3 separate regions of the Homo sapiens genome follow, and regions 2 and 3 are each linked to region 1. The links are contacts of gene promoters, found by promoter capture Hi-C in human tissues and cell types (Jung and others, 2019). All regions are on one chromosome and are shown on one strand. The core of a region is centred on a gene start or on the middle of the fragment in contact, and the rest is flanking DNA. Distances in the headings are between cores, read along the strand shown. Region 1 holds the start of ACRV1 (acrosomal vesicle protein 1). Region 2 overlaps HYLS1 (HYLS1 centriolar and ciliogenesis associated). Region 3 overlaps LINC03136 (long intergenic non-protein coding RNA 3136).

Region 1 (3,471 bases), core at 392-2,891:
CCGTCTCTTTCTTTTTTTTTTTTTGTTTCAAAGATAGAGTCTCGCTCTGTTGCCCAGGCTGGAGTACAGTGGCACAATCTTGGCTCACTGCAACCTCCGCCTCCCGGGTTCAAGTGATCCTCCTGCCTCTGCCTCCCGAGTAGCTGGGATTACAGGTGCATGCCACCATACCTGGCTAATTTTTGTATTTTTAGTAGAGACAGGGTCTCGCCATGTTGGCCAGGCTGGTCTTGAACTCCTGACCTCAAGTGATCCGCCCGCCTCAGCCTCCCAAAATGCTGGGATTACAGGCATGAGCCACTGTGTCTGGCCAATCCATCTCATCATTGACTGTCAGACAAATATTCCTTAAGTATATTTTAAGTGAACAGAAGCACAAAACAGATAATTTGATTATTACTCTTTGATTAAACTGAGCCACCTAGAGGAAGACAAGTAGACTACAACAACCAAGTTATTTAATTCTAGCCAAAAGCTGAGAGGAATTATTGGATCTTTGAGGCTGAGGTAGTCTAAAACCCCAGAGTACTCAAAACTCTAAGAATCTTGCGATAGATATATTTTCTTGGCACAGTGCAGTACTTACAATCAGTGACTTTCTAAATGACTAGGGTGAGAATATGTTGATAAAGGAAAGGTAAGATTTAGTAAAGCTTTTAGGAGGTTTTTATTTTTTAAACTTATTACATAAATACTATCTACTTGACTGGTTTTTCAATAATTAACACAAGTTTTGATAAAGAGATGTTTCTGATATAGAAAGGAGACATAAAAAGCATGCTAATTTCTTGATCTTATAGTTTATGACTCGTGTCACCATGTGACTGGCACATACTATCACCTGGTGGCTGTGTATCTACATTTTTGAGTCAACTTTTGAAGGTCTAACAAAGCAAAAAGCAAAACCTCTGACAGTCGACATTATAGAAAATACATTGTTTTTTCACTGAAAGCTCAGAGCTCATGGCCTCTTTCTGCTGTAGGAGGCAGGAGGGAACACAGCACACCATGAATGGGGGATCCCAAAAGAAGAGATGATACAGAAAACCTGATTGATATAACACAGCCATGAAGAAGAGGCTTATGAAGTCTCTGGCCTATAGCTCTGTCGTGTTCTGAGGTTGTTTTCTGAACACATTACATCTTCCCATCTCCCATCTTTCCTTGGCACATTAACCACACAAGGATCCCTCACATTTAATTGGTGGGACAAACCTTCATTGGGCTTCTACAGAACCCCTAAGCCTACTTTTTCATCTCATGCAGCATCAGGTATAAATGTTGAGTGGCTAAAATAAGTAGAAACCAGACTGTGCCAAGCCAGTGGGACCCTCTGACTGTAAAGCTATGACTAGAGAAATCAACTGGTTCAGGAGCTCTCCGAGTTGGACTTGTTTAGCTGCTCTTGATTCTGACTCAGATTGGTTTGGGTGACTGAGAGACTGGTCTTCCTTCTTCAAGGCCTGAAATGTCTTAAGGGAGACCCCTTTTGTATTTACCTGAAGCCTAGATCAAACACTCACCTCTGGCAGATCCAAGCAGATAAAGACTCATTAGCAAGAGAAACCTGTTCATCTGGATTTAGGAAAAGAGGGGACCCCAGTGTGGGCCACAGCTTCTTCACAGAGCTATGAAGCAAACTGCGAGCAAAAGCTTCCAGTGCTGAAGCAGAGCTTCTGGGAATTCTAGAACCTCAGAAGTAACCCATGTTTCTTCACAATGGGTTGGGCTCTGAGGTTCTTGTGTAGCCTGTTCAGGCAAGTTGGCCCTTAGCAACCCACTGCTTATTTCACTAGTGAAGACCAATGATTATTTTCTGTGTGCAGGGTAGTGTGTTGGGGCTATCTGCCCTATCTTTAAAAAAAAAAAAAAAGTATTACCAAAAAGCACATATTTTTTGTAATAAAGTTTAAAAGATATCTACTGTCTTTTAAAAGTGTTTTTGACAATGAGATGTAATTGTTGATTGTTTTCTGTTTGGCTTTCTAAATCAGCCTTTCTTGGCTCTGATCTGTACCCTGGAAGGTTGACCTCTGTTGACTTTATCACCTGAATGCTGGCTGGATTTGGCTTCAGATTGGGTTTATACAGGATTGGAGGGGAGAAGAGAGAAAGAGAGAGAGGAAGAGGGAAGGGAGGAATGGGGAGAAAGAGAGCGAGACTGGAATATTTGTTCTTCCTATTCCCTTCCTGCCACAGTTGACACTGGCTGAGTCTACATGACAGAGCTTCTGTTGGGTGTCCTCTCTTCCATGGCTCCAGCTCTCATCCATGCTATGGTAATATGTTTTTCTCCCCCTGCCCTCTTAGGCCTAGGGATGATAATGGTTTCCTGCTGTTACTAAAATCTGGATGCCCAAACTTATCTCTTTTTTTGTTTGTTTGTTTCCTTAACCTTGCCCACTTCTGTAAATAGTCTTTTCATACAGACCTTTATCAACATGGTTTTAGCAGGAAACAGGTGGCAAACTCAAATGGGTAACTGAGGAGAGTTTACACAGATATGGGCAGAGTAAAGAGATCAAGAGACAGTAGAAAGCTGCGTTTTGAGCTGCAACTTGGTAGCAAGGGGGTGGCCAAGCTGAGAAGATGGATGCAGTGAGGCATCCACCTGATATAAAACTAGAACTTATGGAGGATTGAGTGGCAAAGATCTGGTAGCTTCCATTTCTCGCTGCTTCTCTGCTCAGCTCTCTTGAACAACTTTGTTTTATATACCACTGAATGCTAAATCTAGAATAGATGTACTTATTGTTACATTTTGAAAGGAAGGTGAGGGTTAAAGAAAGAGAGAGTGGCGGCTCTACATCAAATCCAGGCTTTCTGTCTAGCATAAGACCTACAGAGGTGGGGGACTAGCTTAATGCCAGTGCCCACTGCTTCGTACAGGTTGGGGTACTTGTAGGTATGAGCAGGACGGGTCTGGGCAGTATGGCTTGCTGCCTGGGAAGATGTTCCCATAATGAGGCATTTTGGCCCTTGTTCCCGCAGAATGTGATGCTGATGTTCCTTGGACTTTTTCCCAGCAGAGTGTGATAAAGTCAGGGAGGCAGTTGGACAGGCTGTTTCTAAGGGCCCAAACCCCCGTGGAATGCTTCACTTTAGCCAAGGTCTGCAAAATGGCGGGGGTCGGTGGGGGTTACGAAATGGTGCAGTTTGGACTAACACTTTATCACTGTTATAATTATTTGTTTCATGTTTGTACTCCCCGTTGGACTCTAAGCTTGAATGCAGAGACCCTGTCTTGACTATTGTTGTAGTCCCAGTACCTAGCAGCATGCCTAAGCTTTTCCTGAAGGAAGGAAGGAATGAGTTACCTTTTGGGGCCTCTCTCTGCCTCATAGAGGAGAATTTATAGAGAATCATGTAAGAGAATCTATAGAAGAGAATCTGGATTAAGGTTCTGGGTTAGTTGAAGACAGCAAGATCACCAGGGATCAAAAGTTACTTGACTTGAGTTAGAGGATAAAG
Region 2 (3,471 bases), core at 401-2,900, 220 kb after region 1:
CTCTATATTCAGCAGCTCATCAATAATCTCTGGCTTCTCCATTCCTTGGCCAATCAGAAAGAGGATAGCCATCATACATCGGACTTGATGATAAAGGAATGCCTGGCCAGTCACTTCAAACTGACATAACTGGAAAGGTTCTTGCCATCTCCCCTCACCTGGGCTCTGGCCCACTAGCTGTACTTGAGCAGATAGAATAGTCCTCTGAAAATTAATCACACCGTTGGCTACATCCATTTTACACAAGTTCCTGAAATCATGGGTGCCAACATACTTCTGAGCTGCATAATCCATGGTTACAATATCTAAATCAGCACGAGGGAAAAAATAGCGGTAAGTCCGCTCAAGGCAGCTGAACCTAGCACTGAAGCTTGGTTCTACAGGGGCCCAGGCCAATATACGGATGTCTGGAGGGAGTACCCGATTGAGAATGTGGGTATAACGGATCTCTTCAGCAGCAGCATTAGCCTCCTCTTTTACATTAAAGTCCTCGGAATCCCTGCCCCTTGGAAACTGAGAGCGAAGGTCAAGTGAGATCACCTGTGGAGTTAGACAAAGATACTGGGTTTTAGAGACACAAATAATCTCAGTACTCAGTGTGTATACCTAGAATATCCTAGTATTGCTTGCTTTGAGAAACAGTGTATTGGCCCTTACCTGTCCAAAGGCACTAACTCCTTTATCTGTTCTCCCACATCGGTGATAGTTGGATGTCTGTCTGCTTTCTACTAGTCGAGTCTTGGTTAGAGCTTCAAACAGTTTCTCTTCAATGGTATTATTTGTGTTTTCCTGACTAGCAAAGCCCTGGTATCCCCAGCCCATATAGGCTATTCTTAGGGCTACGTGTCTTCGGCCATGAGCACTGAAATCAAATGCACGCTTAGTTTTTCCAGCTCCTGCTGAATTTTCTCTAATGTTTGAGTCCTCCTTATTTTTGGCCTGTTCCTTTTTAAGTCTTTGCACCTCTTGCTCCAGTTCTCGTACTCTTTTTAGGAGCTTCTCAGTCTGGTTTCTGTCTGTGTCATTATAAGCCATGATATGACAACCCCAGGAATAAACGAACCATACAGGTCTGCCCTGTCTGAAAAGAGAGCAAAGGGATACAACAGTTTCAATGCTAGTTCCTTTGATGATGTTCTAATGGTATATAAGATTTAATTTAATGCCCAAAGAATATACTTTTGCTTTTCCAGGAATACAAGCATTAGCTTTATTGTGGGTTGATCATCCACAGATAGCATTCTTTTCCATCCTGTCTGGCCAGTTCACAGAGGGAAAGAACTGTTTGTTATTCAGTTGTCATTATTAAGGTTTCATTAAAGCAGTCAAAATTCAGGGAGAATGTCTATAGATTTCATTTCTCTATCTTCACTGAATTGATTGAGGACTGATGTTACAGATTTTTTTCTCTAAAACATTTCCATTTGATTTCTCACTGTATTTGTTCAATTTGCTAGTCATAAGATTTCTTTATATGGGCTACTTTTATCTGCTCTGAGTTTCTATTGCTTTCCATTATCTCAAATAAATGACTTGTATGCTCCATCATCTAATATTCATTAGATGAATATTAGGTGGTGCAATAGAAGCTAGCCTAACTGAAGAAGCTTACCGATGGTTGTATTTCACATTGGAAGTAGAAGCTAGAGACAAGATTTTCTCACTTTAAGCAATTTTGATGGGAGAAAAAAAGATAATTAAGCACTCTGACCCCTTTCTAAAGCTGAATTAAATGCATATTTTGATAAAAGATTTCTGTGCCTCTAATAGTTTAAAAAGTCAGTCTGATGTAATGTAGATGTCAGTGTAGAAATTCCTGTAATATTTCAATAATCTGAGGACAACTGTACTACATCCTTAAAATTGGGATGGTCCTAGACAATCTGTGACTGATGGTTACTTTAGTTAGAGAAGACCATCTCCACATCTGTTCTAAGGCCATGTTATCTAAGTATAGGTAGCTTAGTTTTTTACTATGAGTTTCTGTATCTATAATAGATTAAAAGTTTAAATTGTAAAAAATGAAACTGAAAGTACTAGAAGAAAACATGGAATGACTTTTTTCTGAAATTCTGGAGTAGGAAAGGCATTTCTAAGCAAAACAGTCTAGAAACCCAGACACTAGAAAAAGATGTGACCTAAAAGGAAAAACTTCTGCCAGCAAAAAATAAAAGGCAAATGACAAACTGAGAAGAAAAAAATAAGTGATGGTAAAGTGCGACCTTCCTCAATATATATTTCATGAATATATACATCAGTTTTAATGAAAAAGTAAAAAAAAAAAAAATCCAGCAACCTGAGAGTCAAATGGGCAAAGACCAAGCATTTCAAACAAAAAGAAAAAAGCTTATAAAAATTTTTTAAAAAAAATTTTAAATGCTCAATTTTACTCAGCTGAGATAAATGCAAAAGGATATGAACTATTTTTCAAGGAAGTGACTGCAAAGACAAAGTTTGATAGTATACCACTTTGGAGAGGGAATAGAGACACAAGCTCTATTAATGTATGGTCAGTACAGCTTCTTTGGAGGTAAACATTTTGGCAACAGCTGTCAAAATTGAATATACACATACCTTTTGGCCCACCTCTCCCATGTCTAGAAATTTAATCCATTCATATGCTTGCACAAATAGATAAAAACTTGCAAGATACTCGTGTTAGCATCAGTAAACCTATAAACCTAAATTACACCAGTAAGGGAATGGCTGACTAAATTTATGATACATTCATACATTGGAATTCCGCGCAACATAAAATGAAGAATGTCGGCCTGTGCTGATATAGCTGGATAACCAAGATTATCTTTAAGGTTCAGAAGAGTTGTGTAGTGTTGTCCTTTACGGTATTAAAAAAAAATGTACATGTGAATATGGAAAATTTCTAGATAAATCATAAGAAATTGCCTTTGAGAGTAAAACTTGGTGGGGGAGGGAAAATCCTTGCTTAAAATTATCATGTGCATGTATTAGTTTTTCAGTTTAAAAAGAAAAATAGTGGGGACACAGGAAATAGTGGACAGTAGATACCTATCTCAGATCCAGTCAGGAAACTAGCATTGGGTATGTGGCTGATTGATGTGGATACCAAGTTATTTCAGACACTAGAATAAACAGATTTAGCTGGCAACTGAAGATGCATTAAAACTACCAAGACAGCTGGGCGCGGTGGCTCACCCCTGTAATGGGAGGCCGAGGCGGGTGGGTTGCCTGAGGTCAGGAGTTTGAGACCAGCCTGGCTAACATGGTAAAACCCCATCTCTACTAAAAATTCAAAAATTAGCCAGGCGTGGTGGCCCACACCTGTAGTAGTCCAGTTACTCCGGAGTCTTAGACAGGATAATCGCTTGAACCCAGGAGGTGGAGGTTGCAATGAGCCGAGATCATGCCACTGCACTCCAGCCTAGGTGACAGCAAGACTCCATCTCAAAAAAAAAAATTATTAAAGCATAGAAATTATATGTATGCACGTAT
Region 3 (3,471 bases), core at 671-3,170, 190 kb after region 1:
TTTCTTCTCCCTTCTCCTTGTCGCCATGTGTGTGGGTGTCATGGCACCGGCCAGGTGGAAACCACATCTGCCTAATAAAAGAAAGATTAGGGTGGGATGGCCAGCCTCTTTGTGGACTATGTAAATGGCACACTTGGTCCAACTAAATCCCTAGGCCCTATGTAAATCAGATACTGCCTCCTCAAGCCCTCTATAAAACCAGCCGCTTCCCACCGCAACCCGGGAGATCCCTTCGGAACCCCCTCCCTCTGCACAGGGGAGCTTTCCTCTTGTTTCTTTCACCTATTAAACTTTCTGCTCTTAAACCCATTCCCTGTGTGCCCACATCTTTGTTCTCCTTAGCGCGAGACAACGAACCTCAGTTATTTCCCCAGACAGACAACACCACTTCATTGTGGGGACTCGCCCAGGATCAGAATCAGAACAGAAGGTATATTCATCAGAGGGGTGAGTACAGGCGCAGAACTTAACTTTCAACTCTGTCCTTTCATTTGGAGGCTCTCGGCCTCCATCTTAAGTTCAAACAATGGGCATCCTATAGCCACCTAAATGCTAATAGGGCGGCCGCCATGCGGGAAGTCTCAGATGTTAGGCTTGCTTGGGAGAACATGGAGAACTTCTCAATACTCACGGATCATTGGGAATGTTGGCCATGCTTCTCGAACCAGTTTTCTCTCACGGAGGACCTAGCCGTCGCGTGGGGCTAGAAAAGGTCCTGAAGCAACTGAAGATTTCTCGCCAGGACTACACCCTGGTGTTATCTGAAGGCTTCTGGACTGACCCCACCTCCAACTGCCCGGCTGGGTGTCCGCAACAGGATCTACAGCTGTCCTATCGCAAAATTTCCTCATTTCCTATCCGCAAAGGCCATGTCTCCTATCCTCTCTGTGTATGCAGTGTTTGAGAATTTTTACAGTTCAGGAAAATAGTCCTGTTAGGAAAGATTAGCGAATGCCATAGTAACTGAGAATATAGCACAAGGGAATGCTGTTTTCTGTCATTTTCTAGGAGCAAAGAGCCCTTCTCAATAAGCATTTCTCCCTCTACCCTTCCTCTGGGAAGCGCACGGTATTTCTAGGTCAACGTCGCCACCTAGTGGAATAGGAATCCTCTCCATGAGGCACAGCGTTGGTCCATTGCTGTAACACTCTAGCCTCCCAATTCTCCTCCCTTTTTGCACCCCTATACTAGAGACCAGGCTTTATGCCCCTTCTGTGAATGCGAAAACACTGCCTTCAACAATTAGGAGTAAAATGTCCTCCAAAGCCAAATTTTAGTTCTGATACTGTCCCATCAGCAGGAAAACAGCCATTAGGTCCCTACGTTCTTTTAAGGCACACATTCTGCCCCCAGTTAAAACAGTACTTAATTAGTAAGGAGATTTTAAATCCAGAAGTTCACCAGAACCATTCTCTAAGGGTAAACCATTCTCTAAACACCTGAGATTGGGTAATTTAGAAAGAAAAGAGGTTTATTTAGCTCATGGTTCTGCAGGCTTGGAAGTTCAAGGACATGGCCACCCTGGCTTCTGGTGAGGGTGTCATAACATGGCAGACAAGGTCAAAAGAGAAGAGAACAGGTACAAAGAGAGAAAACCTGAAGAGCATCTGGGCTTTATAACAACCCACTCTTATGGGAACTAATCCATTCCTGTGTTGCCAGAGTGAGAATGCAAAGCCATTTCATGAGGGATCCACCCCCAAAACCCAAACACTTCCCACTAGGTCCCACAGCCCAACATCACCACATAGGGGATCAAATTTCAACATGAGTTTTGGTGGAGACAAACAAACCATATCCAAACCATATCCACCTTATACAAAAATTAACTCAGGATGGATCACAGACTTAAATATACAAAATGTAAAACTATATAAAACTTTTAGAAAAAAAGGAGAAAATTTGGGGGATTTGGAACTAAGTAAAGAGTTCTTAGACTTGCCACTAAATGTATGATCCATAAAAGGAAAAATTAATTAATTGGACTTAATAAATTTTAAAAGCTTTGCTTGGTGAAAGGCTCTATTAAGGGCATAAAAATACAACCTATAGACCAGGAGAACATATTTTCATACCACCTATTTGGCAAAAGACTAGTATCTAGAATATATAAAGAACTCTGAAAATTCAACATTAAAAAAATAAATAATACAACTGGAAAATTAGCAAAAGACATGAAAACAGTTCACTAAAGAGAATATTCAAATAAAAAATGCATGAAAAGATTTTCAACATTATTAGCTACATTGAATTTAATGTAGATTAAAACCACAATGGAATGTTACTACATACCTAGAGGGTGGCTGAAATTAAAAACTGACAACACCAAATGCTGGTGAGGATGCACAAAAACTGCATCATTCATACACCACTGATGGGAATGTAAAATGTACATGAAAATAAATTAGTTTGGCAGTTTCTTTTAAAACTAAACATGCAACTACCATGTAGCCAGGCAACTGTACTCTTGAGCATTTATCCCAGAGAAATGAAAACATACTCACACAAAAATCTGTATGTGAATGTTTATAGTAACACTGTTCAAAATTGCAAAAAAAAAAAAAAAATGGAAATAATCCAGATGTCCCCCAGCGGGTAAATGTTTAAACAAACTGTGATACATCCAAGCCATGGAATACTGCTCAACAATGGAAAAGAACAACAACCTGGATGAATCTCCAGATAATTTTTTGAGTGAAAAAAAAAAAATCCCAAAAAGTTCTATACTGTATGATTCCATTTAAATAGGAAGTTAGGGTGGAAAGACATTGGGTGTGGATATAAAATGGCAACATGAGGGAACTTTGTTCTTTATCTTGACCTTATCAGTGTTAATATCCTTGTGTGATATTGCACTGTAGTTTTGCAAGATGTTACCAGTGGAGGTAATTGGATAAAGTGACAGAGGATCTCTTATTTCTAAAAATTTAAGAAGTAAATCAGATACAAAGAAATATGATGTAAAGAAAACCTCATTCACGAGTTCATGTCCTTTGCAGGGACATGGATGAAGCTGGAAACCATCAGCCTCAGCAAACTAACCCAAGAACAGAAAACCAAACGCTGCATGTTCTCACTCATAAGTGAGAGTTGAACAGTGAGAACACATGGACACAGGAAGGGGAACATCACACATGGGGGCCTGTCAGGGGGTGGGGGGCAAGGGGAGGGAGAACATTAGGACAAATACCTAATGCATGAGGGGCTTAAAACCTAGATGACGGGTTGATAGGTGCAGCAAACCACCATGGCACACGAATACCTATGTAACAAACCTGCACATTCTGCATATGTATCCCAGAGCTTAAAGTAAAATTCAAAAAAAAAGAAAAGAAAAGAAATACAAGAAAACCTCACTCACAATCTGGCATGTCTAGTCTTCCTTTTATTTAAAATAGTTGATTCTCAATCCTGGATGTTGTAACTCCCACAGTAGACTTTTGGTGATGTCTAGAGACATTTTTGATGGTC

The links. The method cuts DNA at HindIII sites, captures the fragments that hold promoters and counts their contacts. A contact is called where the count stands out against the background at its distance.
Region 2: a fragment that was not itself captured here is called in contact with the fragment with the promoter of ACRV1 in region 1 in 2 of the 25 tissues and cell types used here (mesenchymal stem cells and spleen).
Region 3: a fragment that was not itself captured here is called in contact with the fragment with the promoter of ACRV1 in region 1 in 2 of the 25 tissues and cell types used here (mesendoderm cells and thymus).

What each region holds. Positions count from the first base shown.
Region 1 is chr11:125,679,206-125,682,676 of GRCh38, forward strand. ACRV1 (acrosomal vesicle protein 1) reads right to left here and starts at 1,642. Exons shown (of 4, transcript NM_001612.6): 1 at 1,524-1,642. The coding sequence starts at 1,575. It also overlaps a transcript of CHEK1 not described here. The HindIII fragment of the contact is 2,782 bases long and covers 1,154-3,471 here.
Region 2 is chr11:125,895,250-125,898,720 of GRCh38, forward strand. The region is part of intron 2 of HYLS1 (HYLS1 centriolar and ciliogenesis associated); the gene reads left to right. PUS3 (pseudouridine synthase 3) reads right to left here. Exons shown (of 4, transcript NM_031307.4): 2 at 658-1,081; 3 at 1-540. The coding sequence starts at 1,035. Among named protein-coding and RNA genes, the nearest start is that of PUS3, 6.2 kb to the right of the region's middle. The HindIII fragment of the contact is 5,970 bases long and covers 1-3,471 here.
Region 3 is chr11:125,873,615-125,877,085 of GRCh38, forward strand. LINC03136 (long intergenic non-protein coding RNA 3136) reads right to left here. Exons shown (of 2, transcript XR_007062935.1): 1 at 632-3,471; 2 at 1-71. Among named protein-coding and RNA genes, the nearest start is that of LINC03136, 7.5 kb to the right of the region's middle. The HindIII fragment of the contact is 6,358 bases long and covers 1-3,471 here.